Regions from separate parts of the Homo sapiens genome. Here region 1 is linked to region 2. The links are contacts of gene promoters, found by promoter capture Hi-C in blood cells and fetal thymus (Javierre and others, 2016). All regions are on one chromosome and are shown on one strand. Each heading gives the region's core, a stretch centred on a gene start or on the middle of the fragment in contact. The rest is flanking DNA. Distances are from core to core; before and after follow the strand shown.

The links. Contacts are between HindIII fragments. The CHiCAGO score rates a contact against its expected background, and 5 or more counts as called.
Region 1: a fragment that was not itself captured here is called in contact with the fragment with the promoter of VSIG8 in region 2 in 6 of 17 cell types (M2 macrophages, endothelial precursors, total CD8 T cells and 3 more); the score reaches 7.7 in M2 macrophages.

The regions. Positions count from the first base shown.
Region 1 is chr1:159,154,661-159,160,849 of GRCh38, reverse strand. No RefSeq gene overlaps it. Among named protein-coding and RNA genes, the nearest start is that of CADM3, 14 kb to the left of the region's middle. The HindIII fragment of the contact is 2,208 bases long and covers 581-2,788 here.
Region 2 is chr1:159,860,528-159,866,794 of GRCh38, reverse strand. VSIG8 (V-set and immunoglobulin domain containing 8) reads left to right here and starts at 4,138. Exons shown (of 7, transcript NM_001013661.1): 1 at 4,138-4,322. The coding sequence starts at 4,274. LOC107985216 (a long non-coding RNA gene) reads right to left here. Exons shown (of 2, transcript XR_001738263.2): 2 at 1-6,149. RefSeq lists enhancers at 3,810-4,722, 4,723-5,637. The HindIII fragment of the contact is 16,901 bases long and covers 1-6,267 here.

The sequences.
Region 1 (6,189 bases), core at 435-2,934, 700 kb after region 2:
AACAAGTTGACCCTTGAACAACATGGATTTGAACTGTGTGGATCCACTTATACATGGATTTTTTTTTCAATAAATACAGTTTGCCCTCTGTATCTCCAGGCTCCATATCTGCAACCAAACAATATTCTCCGGATGGGCAAACTGCAGATAGGGAGGGCAGACTTTTTCTATATGCCAGTTTCCTGGTTCTGCTGGTTCCGCTGTTTTCACAGGGTCAATTGTAGATCTTGAGTATGTGCAGATTTTGGTATCCTGTGGCAAGGGTGTGGGCGTCCTGCAGCCAATCCCCAGCAGATACTGAGGGATGACTGTATTGTCGTAGATTATTTAATCATAAAAAGCTCTATTTTTCCCCCTGCAAACTCAAATCTGTTTAAGTTAATAAGGAAAAGTATACCTATTCTTGCCTTGTTAAAGGGTAATGATGGATCTTGGATAGACCCAGAATGTTAGCACTTCAAAGTGAGGATGTGTAGACAAAGAATATAACTGCTTTATCCCTTTCCTAATTGCATGGCATCTCTAGCACAGGGAATGAAGGATTATTTAGGATAGAATCAGTATACTGGTTTGAAAAGCTTTGTGGATGAAAAATAAGGGAAATCAATTTGATGAGATGGCTAGTTTAAACCAAATTTGGGAGGTGGGATTTGAAAACTAGACACTGAAGAGCTTTATCTTTATCCCAATGTCAGTTGGAAAAAAAATTGTAGCAGGACGTTATGTTGTTGAATTGGTATTTAAATATTAATTCTAAGATTCATTGTGGTAAAGATGGTAATTTTTAATTTATAAATTTGATGCAATACTATGCTAAATTCCAATAAGATATTTTATGGAACTTGACTAGCCTATTCTAACATTCCCTTGGAAGATAAAGTCAAGAGTAAATAGCCATAATTTTTTAAACACATGGGGCTAAGGGGGAGGATGATTTTCTAGCTATCCTAAGCAACTTTAAAATTATAGCAATTAAAACATGAAATCTTGGCACAGGAATACATAAATAGAACCATGGAGCAGAAGAGAGAGTGTAGTTACAAACCAACTTGGAAATTTAGTGTATGAAGAGTGCTACCTTCATTATATACTACACTTCTAATCAGTGACTAGAGGGTTGTACTGTTTAAAGACATTAGAATAATTGGTTATCTGTTTGTCAGTTGGTATGGGATAGGTTTAGCCTTTCCTTATGCCATATACGACAATATATTTCAGGTGGACTTGTGCTAAATTTTATAAACCAAACAACACTAAAAATGTTTGCAAAAACTGTCGAAAAATATACTTAATCTTAGAGTGGGAAAGACCTTCCTAAGCAAGACACAACACCTAGAGTCGATAAAGGAAAGGACCGATAAGATTTACTGCATAATTTTTAAAACTGATATAATTGCAGACCCATAGACAAAATGTAAAAGTAAGTCACAGACTGGGAAGATTTTATTTGCAATATATATGCCAAAGTATCAAAATTGCTAACATGCAAAATAGTCAGCAAATAAACATAAAAAAGACAAACAGTCCAAGAGAAAATTGGGCAAAGGATATGAGTATGAATTCTCAGAAAAAAAATACAGTTGTCTAATAAACATTTGAAAAGATGATCAACGGCATTTGGATTTTGAGAAATACAAGTTATAGCACCAAAGAGATCCTAGACTGTTAAAAAGCATCAAAGAACCCATCAGATTGTTAAAAAATTAAAATGATGGATAATACTCAGTGTTGGCAAGTGCTTAGGGAAATAGGCACCTTTATATATTGTTAGGGAGGATGTAAATTGGCACAGCCTTTTTGGAGATATTTTGGCAGAATGCATCAGAATTAAAAATAGAAATACCAGCAGTGCTATTTCTACAAATTATGCTATAGATCTGTTCACACATGAGTGCTCTGATTTATGTGCAGAGATATGCATCACATCATTTTTTTCCAGTAGTGAAAAATTGAAGACAACATAAATATTCATCAATAGTGAATTGGATAAATAGATTATGCTATATCATACTTTGTAATAACACATTGCAGTTAAAAAGAATGAGGTAAATTTATATCTACCAACATAGAAAGATACAGAAGGTATGTTGTTCAGTGAAAATACAAAGAAAATACACATACTGCTATCCCTTTTGTGTAAAATGGGAAAAAAGCATAAAACATATACATATGTGTATGTAAAATCTTATATGCATATAAATATGTGTTTAAGTAAATGAATAGTTACTTACTGGCTGTGTGACTTCAGGCAAGATACTTAACCGCCTCAGCATTTTTTTTCATTGTGTGGAAAATAGAGATAATTTTACATGACCCCTAGGGTGGTATGATGTGAAAATTAAATAAATTAATCTATTTAAATTGCTTTAAATAGCGCCTGGCACATAGTAGGCACTTGAGTGTTTCTATTGTTCAGATGCATATTAAACTTGGAAAATTATTTTCTGGGCCAGGAGTGAGACTTAAGTCATAAGGGGGACTATAATTGTCCATATTATATACTTCATATTTTTATAATGTGTGCCTATGTATTGAATGATTAATTTTTTTTAAATTAAATGCTTATTCTAAGAATATGAGTTAAAAGATGATTATAGAAATCCAGGAACAAAGTAAAAGAGTCCTGAGCAAGGGCAGTGGAATTGGGAATGGAAAAGAGGTGCTACGTTTGGTGTTGGTTATGGGAAGCAAGACAGAGGGAGAAGGCTGAGGCAGCTCTCAGTTTTGGCTTTTGAGTGACTTGGAAAATGCTGAACCATGAAAAGAAATAGTGGAATTAGGAGAAGCTTTTTGTGGGGTTTAGTATTTTGGAATGAAGGAGGATTAGTGTCTTACTTGAGGCTGCTAAAACAGAATACCATAAACTATGTGGCTTAAACAACAGACTTTGGTTTCTCACAGTTCTGGAGGCTGGGAAGTCCAAGATCAAGGTACTGGTGGATTTGATTCCTGTTGAGTGTCCTCTTCGTGGTTTGCAGACAGCCACCTTCTCAATGTGTCTTCACATGGTGGAAAAAGAGATTGTCTCCCTGTGTCTCTTCTTATAATGACACTAATTCCATTTATTAGAGTTCCACCTTCATGACCAAATCACCTCTCATAGGACTCACATCTAAATACATGAGGGATTAGAGTGTTAACATCTAAATTTGCAGGAGACATAATCAATTTGTAACAATTTTGTTAGATTACATTGAGTTTAAGCTGAGGGCAACCCATCAAGTAGGAAATATTGAATAGACTGGATATGAAAACTGGAGCTCTGGAGAAAGTTGAACGTTCTACCACTTTGAAGTAGACCAGCAGAAGAAGCCTAAAGTTCTCAGTGTCATTTTAAGAGTTCCCATCTAATACTTGCATTACAAAAATCAAGAACTGTGGTATTATAGGATGATATGTGTCTAGGAGGACAAAGACCTGTTCTAGTGGTTTTGATTGTTGATTCTTTTTCTTTGGTAAACATACATTGAACAACTACCATGTGCCAGGCACTGCCCAGACTATCAAGGGTAAAAAAACTCAAGTTTCTCTCTCTCTGGTAGGAACAGAGATTCACAAAATTGAGTACGTTACAGAGTGCTCAGTCCTCCGATAGCCATATGCACAGGGTGCAGTAATGGTGTGAAGATGGGTGTGATCCAGTCTGCTTGGGGTTGTGGTGGATGTCAGGGAAGATATTATAAAAAATGAGGTGATTGAAACTGAGTCTTCAAAGAGGAGGAACAGTCTTCCAGACAGATGTGAGGGTGGAGACAGGAGAAAGGCATTCCAAAAAGAGAAACCATTGCAGCATACCAAGTCATATTAGTATGGAAAACGAACCTTTTTTTTTTCATTTTGAGAACTCTAAGTACTTATTGTAAAATGTAAGCTGAGAGGGGAGGCTGGGGGATAATAGTAACTGATGTTGCAAAAATGGACGGGAATCAGATCACAGATGGCTTTTAGTCTCTTCTTTAGACAAGAGAGAACTTTAAGGGGTTTTGCCTTCAAGAAAAATTATAATTGCTCTGTTGGTGGTGTAGCTGATTGGCAGAAAGGCAGCAGGGATGGTTACACGTAGACAAGTGAGGGATTATTAACATATCAAATAGTCCTGGCTGCATCATCCTGATACCAAAGCCTGGCAGAAACACAACAAAAAAAGAGAATTTTAGACCAATATCCCTGATGAACATTGATGTGAAAATCCTCAATAAAATACTGGCAATCCAAATCCAGCAGCACATCAAAAAGCTTACCCACCATGATCAAGTCAGCTTCATCCCTGGGATGCAAGGCTGGTTCAACATACACAAATCAATAAACGTAATCCATCACATGAACAGATCCAACGACAAAAACCACATGATTATCTCAATAGATGCAGAGAAGGCCTTTGACAAAATTCAACACCCCTTCAAGCTAAAAACTCTCAATAAACTAGGTATTGATGGAAGGTATCTCAAAATAATAAGAGCTATTTATGACAAACCCACAGCCAATATCATACTGAATGGGCAAAAACTGGAAGCATTCCCTTATAAAACTGGCACCAGACAAGGATGCCCTCTCTCATCACTCCTATTCAACATTGTATTGGAAGTTCTGGCCAGGGCAATCAGGCAGGAGAAGGAAATAAAGGGTATTCAATTAGGAAAAGAGGAAGTCAAATTGTCCCTGTTTGCAGATGACAAGATTGTATACTTAGAAAACCCCATCTTCTCAGCCCCAAAACTCTTAAGCTGATAAGCAACTTCAGCAAAGTCTCAGGATACAAAATCAATGTGCAAAAATCATAAGCATTCCTATTCTCCACCAATAACAGACAGAGAGCCAAAACATGAGTGAACTCCCATTCACAATTGCTTCAAAGAGAATAAAATACCTAGGAATCCAACTTACAAGGGATGTGAAGGACCTCTTCAAGGAGAACTGCAAAGCACTGCTCAAGGAAATAAAAGAGGACACAAACAAATGTAAAAACATTCCTTGCTCATGGATAGGAAGAATCAATATCGTGAAAATGGCCATACTGCCTGAAGTAATTTATAGATTCAATGCCATCCCCATCAAGCTACCAATGACTTTCTTCACAGAATTGGAGAAAACTAAAGTTCATATGGAACCAAAAAAGAGCCCGCATTGCCAAGACAATCCTAAGCCAAAAGAACAAAGCTGGAGGCATAACGCTACCTGACTTCAAACTATACTACAAAGATACAGTAACCAAAACAGCATGGTACTGGTACCAAATCAGATATATAGACCAATGAAACAGAACAGAGGCCTCAGAAATAACACCACGCATCTACAACCATCTGATCTTTGACAAACCTGACAAAAACAAGAAATGGGGAAAAGATTCCCTATTTAATAAGTGGTATTGGGAAAACTGGCTAGCCATGTGTAGAAAGCTGAAACTGGATCCCTTCCTTACACCTTTTACAAAAATTAATTCAAGATGGATTAAAAGACTTAAACATAAGACCTAAAACCATAAAAACCCTAGAAGAAAACCTAGGCAATACCATTCAGGACATAGGTATGGGCAGGGACTTCATGACTAAAACACCAAAAGCAATGGCAACAAAAGCCCAAATAGACAAATGGGATCTAATTAAACTCAAGAGCTTCTGCACAGCAAAAGAAACTATCATCAGAGTGAACAGGCAACCTACAGAATGGGAGAAAAATTTTTGCAGTCTACCCATCTGACAAAGGGCTAATATCCAGAATCTACAAAGAACTCAAACAAATTTACAAGAAAAAAATAACCCCCTCAAAAAGTGGGCAAAGGATATGAACAGACACTTCTCAAAAGAAGACATTTACGCAGCCAACAGACACATGAAAAAATGTTCATCATCGCTGGTCATCAGAGAAATGCAAATCAAAACCACAATGAGATACCATCTCACATCAGTCAGAATGGCGATCATTAAAAAGTCAGGAAACAAAAGATGCTGGAGAGGATGTGGAGAATTAGGAAAGCTTTTACCCTGTTGGTGAGAGTGTAGATTAGTTTAACCATTGTGGAAGACAGTGTGGCGATTCCTCGAGGATCTAGAACTAGAAATACCATTTGACCCAGCAATCCCATTACTGGTATATACCCAAAGGATTATAAATCATGCTACTATAAAGACACATGCACATGTATGTTTATTGTGGCGTTATTCACAATAGCAAAGACTTGGAACCAACCCA
Region 2 (6,267 bases), core at 2,889-5,388:
CCAGGCTCCTCCTAGAATCCCACTTCTTCTGAAGTGTACCAGTCAGAACCACTGAGGTTTGGGAAACCTAAGCAGGAGCTTGGGGAGTCCCTGTGTCACCTGTGTTCACGGCTCTTCCCTGCCAGCTTTGATTTGAGCCTTAGTTTCGAACCCAACCCACACCCTCAAACTTAGCCCCACATGTCGATCTCATCCCTCTCTGTAACCAGAATCCGACGTTGTCCCATCACCACCCATGCAACCTCTGAGCCCCCTGCCCTTCTCATGCAACCATGGCCTCACCTGGCAGACCTCCACCTCCAAATCATCACTGAAAGCTGGGTGGACAGACAGCAGCTGCAAGGCTCCTTGGCTTCTCTGTGACTCTTTGCCTATCCATTGTCACTCACAGCTTCTGCTCCCAGAGTCTTACCTCAGAGGTTTCCTCTGCAGGACAGCTCCTCCCTGGGTGCTGCAGGGTGAGCCCTGGGCTACATGGGGACTTGGGAGAGGGGGCTGAGGAGCTTGCTGACTGTGTGGGGAGGAGTTTAGAATGAGTCAAATTGCAGTGCCAGCCAAGGCAGGGGTTGTGGGGAGCTTGATTGAGCCTGAGCCCAGGGAGTCTGGCGGCCACTGAGAGGGGTTGGGGTGGGCAAGTACAGGCAGGGGAGGGCAGGGCTTAGAGGAGTGGGGTGGAGTTGCCATGAAAGGGACTTTGGAGGAAGAATAGGCTTTGGAGGAAGAGTAGGCAGCCCAAGCCCTCTGTCCGTCCTTCCCAGAAAGGTTCTGGGGCTGGGCTGCACTTCATCTGGTAAGCAATCTGTGGCCTTCTCTGAGTTTTTGTCCAGCCTCTTCCTACCTCCTGTATCTCCCTGTTTACTCCTTTCTAAGCCAGTCTTTGATTTTCTGTTACTGTCTTAGAATAGAAGCAAATACCAGTCAAAGCAGGGCCATTCTTCCCTGGAGAGTCATGGATTTCTTAGGAAAAAGCAAGGGGCCCTTTTGGAAATTTGTATTGGTTCCCAGCTCGTGGCCTGGGCCCTCTGCCTCCTCTGTATCCCTCTGAGTCTCTGGAGGGGCCATTTAGACCATGTGTCTTTCTGTCTGCCTCTGTCCCTGTCTCTGTCTTTGCCCCTTAACTCATCACTATCTCTCCCAATCTCTTTCTTCTCTCTCTCTGGGGTCACAGGGGGAACCCCAGTAGTCTCCTGGACCAGACCTTTATAAAACCTGAAAAGGAAGTGGGTGGGGAAATGAGATGTTTGGGCTGGAGACTGGTTGGGGAAAAATGAGAGGGAGGAATTGGGACGGGGTCTTCCTAGGAGTGGGGCCCTCTTCCACTGCTGAGGATAAGGCCCAGAGACTTACACGGACTGTGAGCTGGGCCCAGAGGGAGGGGACTGTAGGACTGTGACATATGCTTTGGAAACTATGCTGACACCCCAGTGCCTTCACCCCATCCACAGCCTCCCCACTGCTGCCCTCCCTGAAAACCCTGCAGGGCTCAGGGTTTAGGGCTGGAAGGCTGACAGCTTCTTTTATAGGACTCAAATTGCAAGAAGGTAGCAATTAAGCCTCAGAGGGTCAAGGGGAAACAACAATGGCACTCTGCCCTTTCAGGCTTTGAAAGACCCCCATGTGGTGCCCCATAAAGTGGCTGTTCTAGGAGCATGTAGGCCCTCAGTTTCTCCCAACTCCCATCTCCTAAGGACTCCAAATCCAGACCACCCCTCCTCCCCACTCAGTAAGACTCCCTCTGATGGACCCCATCTTCTAGTTCGGTTTGGTGTCAGAGCCCAACTCATTGTCAGTAGCTTCCTGCGTCTCCTCCCCAGATGTTTTTCTGGAGCTTGGCCAGGTGGTGAGCTTTAGTAGTGGAGCAGGACTTCAGAGGGTCCATTCTCTATGGGATTTAGTTGCCTCATACCCCTTAGATGGGCTCGTGTACATTTGGCTTCCTCCTCCAAGTCTTGGGACCCCAATCAACATGTGCCATTAGTAGTCTCCCCGCACTAAGGATTGAAAATTCTAGCCAAACCTGGATTTAGCAGATGGAGGCTGAAGTCTTTCTATATTAGAAATAAAACCTCATCTTTGATCCCCATCAACTCCCGCTGCTTACGTGTCTTTAAACCATGTTCCAACCCTAACCACAGCCTATTTCAATGTGAATCTCAAACTTAGTTCTAACCCAATGCTAAATCAATCTAAACCCAGCCTTTGATTTAGCCCTAACTGTATTCCCAGGCAGAGCTGTAAATGAAACTAAAACTCTATTCCTTATCGTAACACAAATCCCAGCCATAAACCTGAGCCTCAATTCTAGCTGTATTTCTAACCCTAATCCCAACCTTAACTCTAATCCCAACCTCAAATCTGACCTCAACCTCATTCATAATTCAACTAACCCCAAACTTAACCCCAGCTCTAACATTAGCCCACATCCAGAACCCAATTAAATCTGAAGCCTGCACTGTAGTTTAGTGGAACCACAATGTTACTGCTTTCTCCTCAATCTCTCTGTTCGTGGTCTGACCTGTTTTCCCTCCCACTCACCCTGACCTTCCATGGTTCTTGTTCGTGAGTGGGTCTAGTAATCCACAGGATCACCAAGACCATTTTTTGGACCTCTCTGGACTGACACCCTGGGTACCTGGGTATCCCAGCTTAGGCACCAGCCGCATTGGCTGAATCCCCATGTTTCTCCAGGTCTCTGTTTCCCCATCTGTAAAATGGGGATAATGATCCCTGCTCTTCAAAGGGAGCAGGACAATCCCATAAACCTAAAAATAAATAAGGAAATAAAGATATTCATTGTGTACATCTGGTAGGTCTCAGAGCGCCCTGTTATTGTTGGGAGTTCAGGTGCAACGGCTTGGAATGCAGAGACGCGTGGACTCCTTGTGTTTCCTTAATGTTCTGACTTATTTTTCCCCAGAGGGGTGGGCCCTGGCAGCATCCCTGAGCCCCATAACTCTCCCTAACACTCTTCCTCCTCTGCCCTTTCTGTGCCCCATGGTAGGGATGGGGGCAGTCCCTGACTCCTTTGAGGGAGTTGAGCTATTGAATGGGGTCACTCATGTCCTGACTCCCACCATGGAGTCCAACAAGGCACATGCCCATTCTGTCCCCCTTAGACAAGCCAACAAGGGGTGGCCCTTCACTTGCTCCCCATGCCTACCAGGACCCTCCCCACCCCAGCACGAACTTACCCAGAACTGTGCTGGTTTAGTCAGCCCGATGACCAGTCCAGGTTATGAGGGTCCTTGGTCTCAAGGACCCAGTTAATACTGGGACTGCATTAACCCTCAAGACCTGGCTACTCTTTCTGGGCAGAGAAGCCAGGACACCAAGCGATCCCTCAAGAAGTTCACTCAGAGGGGCTTAGCCATCCTCACAGAGACACCCTGACACAGACATCCTGCCTCCCTCCCACAGACATTGCTGAGGGGTGCACACGCTTACACAGGCACCCCCTTCCCTGGTCCTCTTGGCGCTGTTCTCTCCAACACTCCCTCACTAGCCCATCAGTCACCTTACTCCTAGCACACACCCTGGACCCCCCATAGCACCCCTGCTCCCAGGGGTCCCCTACACTTGGGGATGGCCTTGAGTCGAGTATGGGTGTGGAGGACAGTTCCAGAGGGGACAGCCAGGAGGAGACTCTGTTCCTGCACACACCCCTTCTCTCCTCTTTCAGCTCAGGAGGCCTGAGTCCCTTTGAAAGGCCTGAAGCCTGGGGGAAGGTGGGCTGGACACTCCTGGGGAACCCTATGCCCTGGGATCAGGATTAACTCTTCAGGTCCTGGCCACTCTTTCTCCCAAGCCTGGCTTCTCCTTCCTCTTCCCCACTTCCCCCAGGGAAGGAGGCAGCAAATGAGTGGTGAGGGGAGCCCTTGGAAGCTGTAAATGAGGTGACTGTTGTCACCCTGAGGATGTGGCCAGGAGGAAGTGAAGTTTAACAGGTGCCTAATTACAAGTCCCGCTGGCTGTCCTGTGCCACTCTTAGGACAGGGAAGAGCTTGGGTGAGGGCTGGGTAATGCCCAGGTAGGCCACCCTGTCACCCTGCTAATTAGGGTTCCTGGGACTCCTCCCCAAGGCGGGGACCAGGCCCCCTCCCTCCCATAGAAATAACTCCAGCTGCTCCCCAGCTGGGCACTCATTGCACCTTCCTGCCACCCCAGGCAGTGTCTGGGCCCTCAGCTCCCCCTCCCTCCACCTACCCCCTCACACCCACCACTACGACCCCACGGGATACCCAGCCCAGACGGAGGAAACACCGAGCCTAGAGACATGAGAGTTGGAGGAGCATTCCACCTTCTACTCGTGTGCCTGAGCCCAGGTACGGGGCTGGGCAGGGGGCAGGGTAGCCAGCATGAGGCTAGGTGGGAAGGAAAGGGGCAGCAAGGGCTCACAGTGGAGCCTGGGGCTGCCTGAGTTGCCTGGCAGGGTGCTGCCCACCCTTGCCCTGCTGCAGCCGGGTGTGGGTATTACCAGGGGACCTTTCCCCAGGAGACCCTGTGCCTGATGTTCAGGGTGTGTGTCTGTAGTGCAGAGGTCTTTGAGTGGATCTTTATATGTCCCCTGTCGGGCTCACACATGTGTGCAGGTGCCCTGCAAGCTCATGCCGTGACTAGGAGGAGAGGGATTGATTGCTCTGCAGGAGCTGGAGGTGGGGTAGGAGAGGGGTAAGCACGGGCATTGGGTGAGGGCTCAGGAGGAGCTTGGGAAGGATCAATTTTCATCAGACTGTGTGCTATTCCCAACGCTACTCCTTCTCTCCCAAGGCCAGGGCCAAGGGGCAGGGAAGTCACTTGCCTTGAAAGGGCAAGAGACTAAGTCTGGTGTAAGTCTGAGTGGTTTCTTCCATCATGGCCAGTGACAGCTCAGGCCTGAGACCTCAGCCTTGGGCCCCCTGTGCTATGACAGGGCAGTGCCCCACTCTAGGATGAGGCCTGAGGGTGGTGGGGATGGCAACTCCAGAGACTTCTCACCCCACCAGGACAGGTCCACAGGGCAGGGCTCAAGTTTGGACATTGTGGCTTCCTGCCCAGGTTGGGGCAAGTTCCACCAAGGGGCATTCTATGCCAACATCACTGGAAAGGGCTCCGAGTCCCTCTTGCAGTCTGGATTTGGGATGAAGGGGCATGAAGGAGGAATTTGGGAAGGCGGGGTGACATTTTCAGCCTTTGTGTGAGCGTGAATGTGTATGTGAGTGTGTGGGTGCGTGCACCTGCATGGGAATGATGACATTTCCGGCAGGATAGCTGCAGCCCTTCTCTGTCTGATGAGAGCAGGGCTGGCAGAGTCCACTCGGGAGGCTCCAGCTGTGCTGTGGGGACCCGGACTTCCCCCTGTGTGGTGTGTCAATGGGTGTGTGAGGACAACTCAGCACTGGCTGCATTAACGCATCAATACCCTCAGCTGGAGCCGCCTTTTCTCCCCTCCCTTACCTCCAGAGGGAAGATCAGGAGTTCTGGAAGCACCTTGAAGATTCAGAAAGAATTTGCAAGCAGAGAGTAGGCACCACTATTGAGATGACACCCCGTAAAGCATGGCCAGTTTCTGGTGCTTTTGGGGGGCAAAGAATCACCACTGTCCTCTTCCTTGGAGAGCCCATGTGATTCCTCCATTCCTGTCTCTCCTCAAGTCTCCCATCCAGCTCTCTCTTCCACTTTGCCTTTCTTCCCTCTCTCCAGCCTCTCCTCTCACATTCCCTGTAGTACTTCCTTAGTGCTACAGCAAGAGGAATCAAGGTGAGACATTAGGAGCAACTTCCCAAGGAGAGGGAGGGGTGCGGAAAGGCTGGAACCCTTGGGAGGAGGTTGAGAAGACTTCTAAGGAGATAGAAAAGCTGGGTGAGGCTCCCTGGTCTGGGACAATTGAAGAATCTCTCAGCCTGGTGCAGGGTGGAGGTGCTTTTCTTGCAGCCTGTCGCTCCTTCCCAAGCCCCTCTCCCTGAATGCTTACCATCCTGCCTGGCAGGCTCCTATGGCATGGAGAGAGTCCTTCCTGTGTGGGTGCTTCCAGCGGTGCTTCTCCAGGGTGGAGCCTCTGCTCTCAGCCGAGTTCTGGCTCATCCCTGGCTTGCCTTGAGCAGCCTCAGGATCTGGCAGATGGCAGCAGGATCCTTATCTCAGGAATGAGCTGTTGTTCTCTTGGCCTGGAGCTGGAAGAGGCATCACTAGGTCCCGTTAGAGCCCCAGCAGTCAGCCTGCCTGCTCTGGGTCACCTTGGAGTCTAGCTGGGTTATGACAGAGCTGATGGCCCAGCCAGTGTTCCTAGGG